Regions from separate parts of the Homo sapiens genome. Here region 1 is linked to region 2. The links are contacts of gene promoters, found by promoter capture Hi-C in blood cells and fetal thymus (Javierre and others, 2016). All regions are on one chromosome and are shown on one strand. Each heading gives the region's core, a stretch centred on a gene start or on the middle of the fragment in contact. The rest is flanking DNA. Distances are from core to core; before and after follow the strand shown.

Region 1 (6,140 bases), core at 463-2,962, 41 kb before region 2:
AACTGCCTGGGTTTGAATCCCAGCTCTGCTACGGGCCACCAGCTATGTGAGTCTGGCACACAACTGATTTCTCTGCTTGGATCCCTCATCTGTAAAATGAAGGCAACAAAAGCTGCTACCTCGTAGGGTGGTTGTGAAGACTAAAGTAAAACTTGTAAAGCATTTTGAGTGTTTTTCTTTTTCTCCATCATTATCTTTTAAGGTTAGCCTAATGTTCATCTCTAGTGACTTCTATCTAAAAATTTGTTAGTGAGACAGAATAGCATAAACAGGTCTTATGGCCAAGCAGATATGGCCTTTTTACAACTAGTAAAATTTTTCTTTAGAATTTTCATTTGCAAAATGGAGAAAATATAAATTTATAGTAAGGATTCGATAAAGTATATAAAGTCGTTTAGCTTAGAAAGTGCTCAATAAGCGGTACTTTGGTTATAATTCTCAATAGACCTGAATCTCTGCTCAAATAAGTTCCGTATTTCATTATCCCATGTAGCAAGATGAAATCCCAACACCCAGATCACAGACATCCCTTTAGAGTATTTCTACACATATTTATAATATAAAATTTCAGAGAGGAAGGACATTCATAAAATTCTAATTTAAAACAAAATCCTTAAGGCATCTAATTCTTAAGGCAAAACATTTTGTTGTTTGGTTGAGAAAAGGAAGGAGGAAAGATGAGGCAATTCTTTAGATTCTTTAAAGAAGGGCTCTTTCAGCTTGAGTTATATTGATTGACTTCCTGGCTTGAATCACTTCATGGTATTTTGTTCAACTCAGCTGACCATAGGAAGCAGATGACATACCTCCTCTGAGACTGGCTCTTTAGCACCAGATGGACAAGATAAGTGCTATAAGATGAGGGGCAGCCACATGGCTGACATCGTCATCGTCATCATCATCATCATCATCATCATATCATCCCATGTAGTGTCCACATGTAGGGAGGAGCACTTCTTGTGTGTTGAGCACAGCACTAAAGGACTTTACATATTAACTCAGTTTTATCCTTACAACAACCTTGTTGGCTTAATATTATTATCTCTATCTTTTTTATTTTTATTTATTTATTTATCTATTTAGAGACAGGGTCTCATTCTGTCACCCAGGCTGGAGTGCACTGGCATGATCATAGCTCACTGTAGCCTTGAACTCCTTGGCTCAAGCAATCCACCTGCCTCATTCTCCTGAGCTAGGACAATAGGCATGTGCCACCACATCTGGCTCTTTTTTGTTGTTGAGAAGGGCAGTGGGGGGTTCTTGCTATGTTGCCCAGGCTTGTCTCAAACTCCTGGCCTTAAGTTATCCTCCTGCATCGGCCTCCCAAAGTGCTGGGATTACAGGTGTGAGCCACCGCACCCAGGCTGTTTCCATCCTAAGAATGAGAAAATCATGTTCTTTAGAGTCTTTCAATCTGTTCATGGTTCTGCCGCTAAGTGGTACAGCAGGGGTGAGAATCCAGGATCCCAATCATGGAAGCTTTTTCCATTAGGCTTTATGGCCACTGCTGCTGAGGGTGGGGCCTTCCCGGAAGCCACTCTCACCCATGCCATTGTGGTTTATAAATCATGCTAAATGTCCCTGCTAAGCAGCCCAAGCTGACCTGCTGGGCTAGTGGCCCTGTCCCGGGAGCGCTCACAGGCAGTGTTGGGAGAGACTGCAACCATTGCTGACAGGCCGGAAGAGGCATTGCCATCCTCAGACTCTTGGTGCAACTGAGATGAACTTGACAGAAATGATTTGGTTCCACAGGAAAATATAATTCCCCCTAAGTTATTTTGTGGAGTCAGCGGTAAGGGAGGCAGGGGCGTCCCCAGTGTCTTGGTGCAGATATTGGTGCCCCCTGAGAGGGCAGACCTGATGGCCCGGACAAGTTTCCTTTCTTGAAACAACGTTAATTTGTCCAGTTTTGTGGCTTTTTTATGTGGAACAACATTAGCTCATCCAAGCTTGTGGTTTATTTGAAAACGAAATTCCGGTAAATCTTTCGCACCATCTGGCAGTGTGGTGATTGGCCGCGAGTTAGGAACAAGCCACTGAGCACACAAGAAAACAAAGCAGTGAAAACCCACCACCCCAAACAGAAAGGCTTTCTGTAAATTTTGTGCCTCAGCAACCCCACGGGGCTCTCTGAGGACGGGTCTCCCTGTGAGCAGAGCTGTAACCTGTCACTCTTGGGTGGGAATCTGTTTCCTTCAATAGCTAAGGCCTAGTGGAATTTCTTAGGGTAAGCTTTAGCCAGGGTCTTACATTCTTTCTTTAGACACAGATTAGCAAGGACCCTCTGAGGGCACATTCAGAGGATCTAGAAACCAACATGAGTGATCAGGAGAAAAGGGAAATTGAAACATCAGTGGTTGACTCTGGTGTGTGGAAAAATGAGTGGGCCTGAGTCCCCGAGGGACATAGAAGATGGCATTCTCACTTATCTGTCTGCCACACCCAAAAATCCTTCCCTGGTATTCATTGCACACATAATAAATGTTTATCCAGTGCCAGCTACATGCCTTGCACTGCTTTGGGCACAGGGGAGAGAACTATGAACAAGACAGTCAGAGCCCTTGCCTTTAAAGAGCTTATATCCTAATAGCATAGGCAATTTAAAACACATGATTTGAAATACTAATTTTGGCTGGGCACAATGGCTCATGCCTGTAATCCCAGCATTTTGAGAGGCTGAAGTGAGAGGATCGCTTGAGCTCAGGAGTTTGAGACCAGCCTGGGCAACAGAGTGGAACATTGTCTCTACAAAAAATGAAAAATTAGCTGGGCGTGGTGCCATGCACCTGTGATCCCAGCTACTCGGAAGGCTGAGGTGGGAGGATTGCCTGAAGCCAAGAATTTGAAGCCGTGATTATGCCACTGCACTCTAGCCTGGGTGACAGAGTGAGGTTCTGTCTCAAAAAAAAAACAAAAAACAAAACAATGTAATAATTTCAAATACGTTAAGTGCTATGCTGGGGACACACAAGGGGCTGAGGAGAATGAATGCAGGGAATGAGTGATCTTTAGCTAGATGGCTCAGGGAAGGCTCTTGGAGTCAGTGTTTCAGCAAAGAACCCATGTGAGATGCTGGTGACTGTGCAAGGTGTGGAAAGGCCTCTGTGCTGCAGGAACTGAAGGGCCAGCCTGAAGAGGTATGCAGAAGAAGGAAGAGTGCATGACAGGAGGAGGGGGAGGCAGGCAAGGGCCATGCTCACAAGGCTGTGAGAAGTCATTTCTCCCTTTCATGCAGGGGAAGGGCATGATCCAGCTCACATGAACAGAAAAGCACTTTGCCACTATGAGGAGGATGGATTGTAGGAGGCCAATAGTGGAAGCAGAGCAACCACTGAATAGGTTATCTCAGTTGTCCAGGCAAGAGACAATGGTGGCTTGAGTCAAAGGGATAGCAGCAGAGAGGGAGAGAAAAGACATTTGAGCTTGAATCAGGAGAATTTGCTGATGGGTTTGATATCAGGGAGTAAAGGAAGGGTTCCAATAAGTATGAAGCTGGTATTTGAAACCATGAGAACTGATGAGCTGACCTAGCTGATGGGAAGAGAAAAGCATTCCAGAAAAGAAATATGTGGGGTTTCTCACCCTGTGACCTGCATGGGCATCTGGGCAGGAGTACACACAGAGGCTGTAACCCACATCATGGGGGCCTCATGCACAGATGTTGGACACTTCAGCCCACTGGTACACAGCCCCCAACCCCTACCACCTGCCTCTCACAAAGCACTCATTGGCTATTACCCCAGGACGAACATGGGAAAAGGCATCAGGCAAGTCCTAGAATTTGGCCTTGAGCTTTTTGGGTGGAAATTACAGGGCCCCAGGACTCCAAAGAGTGGTCTAGAAGAGAGAGTGTGTAGACTGGGCAAGCGTGCCCCTCAAACCTGTGGGCTCCTCACTCATCTGGCTAGGATCAGAGCAGGCCAGGTCAGGGCAGAAACCTCCAAAGCATGAGACACGGGGCAGGGCCCTGGCTGCCAGATCTAAGGGAGGTACTGCGCTGGTTGTAGTTATCAGAGTAATCAAGGCCATTTCTCCAGGAAGCTGAGGTACAGGCCCTAGGAAGGGAGTGTGTGTAACTCGCCCTGCCAATCCCTAGACTACTGCTACAGATTACCCAAAGAACTAAGCGTAGAACTACATTTGATCCAGAAATCCCACTACTGGGTATCTACTTCTTGTCTTGAAAAAGAAATAATTATACCAGAAAGATGGCTGCACTCGTGTGTTTATCATAGCACTATTCTCAATAGCAAAGTCATGAAATCAACCTAAATGTCCATCAATGGATGACCAGATAAAGAAAATATGGCATATATACACAATGGCATACTATTAAACCATAAAGAGAATAAAATCATGTCTTTTGCAAAAACATGGATGGAACTGGAGGTCATTATTTTAAGTGAAACAGCTCATAAACAGGGTGACAAATACTACATGTTCTCATTTATGAGTGGGAGCTAAATAATGTGTACACAGGGATGTAGGGTGTAGAAGGATAGACACTGGAGACTTGGAAGGATAAGGGAGGGAGGTGAACGATGAGATATTCCTTAATGGATACAATGTATGTTATTCAGGTGATGGATATACTAAAAGCCCTGACTTTCCCATTACTCAATATATTCATGTAACAAAATTACACTTGTACCCCATGCATTTATACCGAAAAAAAAGATCCCTTACTACTTCTACAGTTTCTAATACATGGTCCCGCACCTAACTCCACCCTGACCATGTATGTCATAATGGGAGTTGGCACCCTTGCTGCACTTGCCAAAACTTATACTGGTGGGAAGAAGAAAAAATCTGAGATACAGACTTAGGTGAGATGAAAACCCCAGTTGCAGAGGCTACTTCAGCCAGGTTAGCCAGAAGATCTGAGGACAGGTTCCAATGGGCATCTGATGTGTGTTCGAACATCAGGTGTGGTTTTCATAGGTGCTGGGGAGAGGCCACCCCCCAGGCTGTGGTCAAGATGGGAATTCCAGACATGAGTGGTGTGCAGGGAAGTGTAGAGAAGCATAGCTTCTGTTGGTCTGTTCGTTCAAGGCTTGGATCCAGCCAGGTACTGACCAGCTGAAGCACAGGATCCGTCCAGTGCCCTGTGACCCCAAAGGTTGGGAGTTAGCAAGAGTTGGTTAAGGAACTTGAGGCTCAGGGCTGCCTTCCCATATTAGTGAATTACAAGAGTGCTAGGTAAGACAATTCATATTCATTTCCTGAAGTTGGTCAGTATTTTGGGATGGTGAGGGTACTGAGGCTGAGATACATTTGAGCATTCACAGTGCATCGTTCACATCTCCACTCTTGGGACTGCTGACCTTGAGTTAATTTCCTGCTCTATAGTACACGGCTAAGTTGCTTGCCTTTGACATGGTTGGCTCAAGCTGAGGCAGGGCTGGAGGCGAAGCCCATCAGCATTCCCTTTTCAAAGTCTCAAGGACTGGCTGCCCTCCCATAAATTCCAGGACTGGTGACCAGACCTTATTCGCTGTCCAAATGATGAAATCCTTAGCTTTCTTCATCTACAGAGCAAATTCACAACAGGCAGATGTCACATACAATAGGACTATAAAAATAATACAGCTGCATGACACTTTCTAATTTGTTCCTTTTTGTCTTCATGGCAGCCCCGGTACCCGTGTAGTCAAAGAGAGGTAGGACTGTGAGGAAAAGGTACTGCGAGCCAGGAACGACATGTCTCATTCCAAACCTTGGTTGTGGCATATTTTGTGGCCTTGGGCAAGTCACCCAATCTGTCTGCTCCTTCTTTCCAAAATGTGAAACAAACTGAAAAGGGGCTGGGAGAATGCATTAGTTTGGTGGAAGGGTCTGGGCCACTTGTTTCCATCAGTGCAATAATGACCTCTTTCTATTTACAAGAATGGCTGCTCTCCTCATTTCACTTTTGGTAGTCAAGTGGATTTGCAAGTAAATGGGAGCTCTGGTGACAATCTGTGGAGCATTCTAAAAGCCCCTGGTTTGCATTATCCAGAGAAAATGTCAGGGATTCTTGACAGTGTTCCTTAAAGGGGCTTTCAACAGGACTCACTTCAAGACTCCCATGAAGCAAGTTTTACACAGAAATGAAATTATGCTCCATTCCTGTTGAAAATTAAGGCAACAGGAAATTTGTG
Region 2 (5,665 bases), core at 109-2,608:
TGATAGGAACCAAATACCAGGCCATCCCGCCATTTCAGTCTCTGTCCCAAGGACTCCTCATTAAATTCCATCATCATCCTTCAGCTAACAACCAAAAGCCTTCCTGAAACACAGCCTCATGCAAATAGGTACTGAGAAAACTTCCTAGCCCCTAGTTCTGCAAACACTCACCTACGCAGTTTAGAATCAGCTAGGTTACGTGCCTGTGCATTTATATATGCAGATAAATAATACAGCAGCTATACTACAAGTAGGTGTCTCTTCAGCCTGTTTACTTTAATTTTTACATATTAGGCTCATCTCTGAATGCCCAAAAGAGGATGTAACTGATATATTCTCCTGGCAAAAGAGTCAGGAGTCATTTCCCAGCTGAGGGGATGGGTTGATGCTCTTCCATTTTCTCTTAACCCTGTGCAAATGGTGCTGGGCCATAAGAGGACATCTGGGATTCAACTCCCACTGTGTATGGCTAAGAATCAGAACAAAGTATGATGTCCACAGAGGACCTTGAGCTCACAGGCTCCATTCCAGAGAGTAATACAGGGATAGTAAACCACTGGAAGCAAAGACTCCCTGTGGAATAGCTGCAGTCATCCCCCATGCTGGCCCAGCCACCTGAGAAGAGACAGTCTTGTTAGGTTGACTTAACTATTGGTCACCTGAATTTAATTTGGCTTACTGAATTATGGATGAAGGAGACAATAATCCCCAAGAGTTGGCCAATCTTTGTCATCAGGGGTTTTCTTATGTTGGTGAGAGTGTTCTAGTACCTTAATAGGCAGCTTGAGTTTGATGCATGAGTCATAATGAATCAGATGTACCAGAGTTGTTGTTTTGATTCAGCTCAGCAGTTATGTCTTTGAATCTGAGTCTCAGATGGGCACCTGAATAGACTCATCACAAAGCTTCATTGCAAATTATACAGTGCAGGGAAGCTCAACAAATTATTCTGATTGTTTCCAGAAAGAAAAAGGAAGGCAGGATTATACAGCATTTAGTGTCACCAATTAACAAGGTCATGGGGCTGAACCACTCATTCCAAAAACTTAATATCTACAAACTCAAGCACAAGGAGCCTCTTTTAATTATTTGGAAACTGTGGGCTGCAGGGAAAGCGAGTGCTCTCAGCCTTGTGATCTGAGCAAGGTTCAGGAGCTGGAGTGGGTTTGGCTGAGTCACCACTGGCTGCATGACCCCACACACATCACCTGACCTCCACATGCTTCAGCTGGCCCGGCTGTAGAGATGAGAAAATGCAGCCGGAAGGCCCCAAGGGGCAAAAACAGCCTTCTGCACACAGCTGCCCTGGGGCAGCTTCCTGCGGCACAGTTTAGCTCTATCAGAGGCAGGGGGACCCTAGTCTGGGCCACCAAAGCAGCCTTACCTAAAAGCCACCTTTGGGAAAGGGCCTGTTTCATGCCGCAAGTGTAGGAGTATAAGTAAGTAAAACCTTTTTTAAGCCTTGAAAATACTCATATGTTTTGGTTGCATGATTTCATTTGAATGAATTTATTCTTAGTCAGGAATCAGAGGCGTACACAAATATGTATGTTCAATCATGCTCATCATAGTGTTAACTTTAGTAACGAAAAACTGAAAATTATCTAAATGTTCAACTGTAAAGCATTGTACAACAAACTATGGTACATTTTTATTTTGGAAGGTTGTATGGCCATTAAAAAATCACTAGAACAGAATAATCAATGACCTGGGAAAATGTCCACCGTAGGATAGTATATAGAGAAGGACCGTAAAACAACATTGTTAGAATAATCCAATTTGTTTTACACTATATGTACTCCCAGGTGGATAGACAAAAGCCTGGAAGGTGAGACAAGAAATTATTAATGATGTTTAATCTCTGCGTTTGGGGATTATCAGCTCTTTTTAAAATTTATGGTGCTTGCCTGTATGTTCCAATATTTTCTATCACAATGGTCATGTGTTCTTTTTGCCATAAAAATCAATTTTGAAATTCCCCGAGTTGCTGTTAACTTGGCCTGTCTGTTGCATATGGGGCCAAACTACACGCCTACCTGTGGAGCAAATGAATACAGTGACTCATCTGTGAGCTGAGGCTTGAGCAATTCCAGCCCAGGAGGCTCTCCGGCCTGGGAACAGAGTGGGATTTTTTGTCTGAGGAGGCTGAGTCTGGAAGAAGGATGACTCTGTGGGTGGTTTCCTAGATCCTCAATGCACGTGGCTTCCGGCCTTGACTCCTCCCTTAAATTCTGGGTTGCTGGCCAAGGCTGAAGAACAAATTTGCCTCAGCAGCCAACTCCTCTATGTAAGCCTGACATTTACTCTGTATCTACATAATATCTATTAAGCAACACCTGATCCTGTTCACCAGGATGTATGTTCCCAGGGAAACCTTCCTTTCAAAGTTAAGCAGGCATTCTTGGTAAGTAGCCCTAACACCTGGGAATCATGCAGTTAACTTTCCAGGCCTCAATCCTACATGAGTGTCCTGGGTTATAATAGCATGGCTGGATGGGTGGTGATCTCACCATTTTAGCCAGTGGCTCATCCTGCATGGGAAGAAAAGTTTTAAAATGGCACAGCTTCCTTTGAGAAGAGAGCCATCTGCTCCATAATATATGGGGAAGGAAAATGGTGCTTTATGAGACAATCAGAGCAAATTGGTACATCATCATGGAGCTTTCAAGGTGATATTTTCTAAAACAACATAGCCATTTTTTATTCCTCTTACCAAAGCCAAGGGGCAGTCGATAATCTCAACATTTCTGCTCTCTGCTTCAGGTGTAGGCTGTCATTGGCTTGCTTAGGTCAATAGTGGACACCAGCCTTCCCTGAGCTGACTTATTGAAGATGGCCCAAGGGCCTGGCAGGCAGTCTGAAGTACAATCTAACATTGTAACAGATAAGTCCCAGTGTGAAAGAGAGTCATATTATCTCCATTTCACACAGAAGAAACCAAAGTATGAATCCTCATCAAAATACATTTTATTGAGCACATACTTTGTGTCTGGTAACGTTTCAGGCACTGGGAAAACAGCAGTGAACAAAATAGATCAAGTCTTTGCCCTCAAAAAGTTTACATTCTTTTGAGAGTAAACAATAAGCAGAGTTTTAATATACTGGGTGATAATCAATATGAAGAAAAGTAAGGCTGAGTAAGAGGATAGAGAATAAAGGAAGTGCAATTCTATATAGAGTAACTAGGGGAGTTTTTTCTGATAAACTGATGTTTGAGCAGAGACAAAAAGGCAGGGAGGAAGTGAGCCACTTGCATCCTTGCAGGACAAATGTTTGAAATAGAGAAAAGAAGGCTGGGTGCGATGGCTCACACCTGTAATCCCAGCATTTTGGGAGGCCAAAGCAGGCAGATCACCTGAAGTCAAGAGTTGGAGATCAGCCTGGCCAACATGGAGAAAGCCTGTTTCTACTAAAAATACAAAAACTAGCTGGGTGTAGTGGCATGCGCCTGTAATCCCAGCTACTCGGGAAGCTGAGGCAGGAGAATCGCTGGAACCCAGGAAGCGGAGGTTGCAGTGAGCCAAGATCATGCCACTGCACTCCAGCCTGCAAAACAGAGTGAGACTCTGTCTCAAAAAATATATATATTAAAAAAAAAGAAAAAGAAAAGAAAAAACAGAAAAAGTGACACAGAGAAAAGAGCAAATGCAAGGCCTTGAGGTGAGAGCACGTCATGATATATTAGAGAATCAGCAAAGATGACACTGTGGCTTCAGATAAGACTCTCATCTTTGAAGGGTTCTCAGCAGAGGAGGGACACGATCTGCCTTATGTGTGCTGGGAGCGGGCACGGTCACAGATGAGAGGAGGGTAACCAGCTAGGACGCAATTGCCATAATCAAGGCAATCATGGTTGGGACCAGGCTTGAAATAATGAAGGTGTAGGAAGTGGAGCAATTTCAAAGGAAGACTTGGGTGCCATTTTAAAGAGCAAGGTCACTAACAAAAAGCACAAAAGTGTAAAAAAGTGGCATTAAATAGATAATGAAAAGGATGCTTATTTGCATCATGAGAGTTGAAACAAGAAGGTAGAATGTCTTGTCTCATCCCAGCTGGAACGTACATGTCGGGTGACTCAAAATTTTTATAGGCCTGCACGTGACTGCAATGATTATGAAAGTGCCATGAGTACTGATCTTGGGGTCACAAATAGAGTTTAGTGAATAAGAAAATTTGCAAATATGGAATTTATGAATAATGAGGACTGAACTGTCTGAAGGGTGAGAGGCCTATTATTCATGTAAGTGGAGATATGATAAATGAGAAGAAAGTTGGAGGTAGAGGCACAGATCTGGGAGTTATTGCAATGTATCTAAATCTCTATATCCTGCATGAAACTGGATGAAACCATCTTAGGAGTGTAGAAAAGTAATAGGAGAGTTCCAGAAACTGGATCCAGGGGCATTACAGCAAGAAGGTGCCTGCAAAGGATGCTGAGAAAGAGCAAATAGTAGAGTAAGAAAAAAACCAGGAAAGAGTCGTGTTTTAAGAATGATGAAGGGAGTCAGGAATGGGTCAATGCTGCTGAAAAGTCGAGTCTCATGAGATGTAAGAATGAACCTTTAGATTAGGCAAGATGAAGGGCACAGGTGATTTGGATGAATAGTTTCATTTGAACACTGGAGGTAAAAGCCTGAGTGGATCAAAGAGCAAATGCACAATTCTTTCCATGAGTTTCTTTTATTGTTTCAAAAATGCAGTTTATCGGGCCAGGTGCAGTGGCTCATGCCTGTAACCCCAGCACTTTGGGAGGTTGAGATGGGGGATCACATGAGGTCAGGAGTTCGAGAGCAGCCTGGCCAACATGGTGAAACAAACCCCATCTCTACTAATAATACAAAAATTAGCTGGGTGTGGTGGTGGGTGCCTATAATGCCAGCAACTCAGGAGGCTGAGGCAGGAGAATCGCTTGAACCTGGGAAGTGGAGGTTGCAGAGAGCCGAGATCATGCCACTACACTCCAGCCTAGGCGACAGAGCCAGACTGTGTCTCAAAAAAAAAAAAAAGCAATTTATTTACGTATTTTTAATTTTTAATTATGTTAAAAAATTTGTGTAGGTACATAGTAGGTGTATATATTTATGGGGTACATTAGATGTTTTGATACAGACATGCAATGTTAAATAAGCACATCATGAAGAATGAGGTGTCCATCTCCTCAAGCATTTATCCTTTAAGTTACAAACAATCCAATTACATTCTCTATGTTATTTTTAAATATATAATTAAGTTACCATTGGCTATAGTCACCCTATTGTTCTATCAAACAGTAGGTCTTATTCATTTTTTTCTATTTTTTTCATACCTATTAACCATCCCCACCTTCCCCCAATCCCCAACTACCCTTCCCAGCCTCTGGTAATCATCCTTCTACTCTCTGTTTTCCAGGAGTTTTGACGTAAATGAGAGAAAGAGAATAAGGTCACAACTGAAGGAGGATGTAGGATCGCAGATTCTTTTTAAAGGGGCGAGTACAACATATGTATGCTAGGGGGAATGAACCAATAGACAGGAGAACTGATGATGTGGATAGGTGAAGTCATCATTGCAGGTGGTACCTCTTCTATGACTGCAGTAACTTACTTAACTTCACATCCATTGTATGTGGTGAGTAGTGTTCCTATCTTCATCTATGGATGAGAAAAATGAAGCAAAGAAAGGTCAG

The links. The method cuts DNA at HindIII sites, captures the fragments that hold promoters and counts their contacts. A CHiCAGO score of 5 or more calls a contact.
Region 1: a fragment that was not itself captured here is called in contact with the fragment with the promoter of ITPR2-AS2 in region 2 in 1 of 17 cell types (M2 macrophages); the score reaches 5.5 in M2 macrophages.

Annotation. Positions count from the first base shown.
Region 1 is chr12:26,276,088-26,282,227 of GRCh38, forward strand. The region is part of intron 1 of LOC105369705 (a long non-coding RNA gene); the gene reads left to right. Among named protein-coding and RNA genes, the nearest start is that of SSPN-AS1, 7.3 kb to the left of the region's middle. The HindIII fragment of the contact is 470 bases long and covers 1,478-1,947 here.
Region 2 is chr12:26,317,566-26,323,230 of GRCh38, forward strand. ITPR2-AS2 (ITPR2 antisense RNA 2) reads left to right here and starts at 1,359. Exons shown (of 6, transcript NR_199072.1): 1 at 1,359-1,439. It overlaps LOC107984482 (a long non-coding RNA gene), which reads right to left. Exons shown (of 3, transcript XR_001749054.2): 3 at 5,355-5,630. RefSeq lists an enhancer at 1,052-1,101. The HindIII fragment of the contact is 7,262 bases long and covers 904-5,665 here.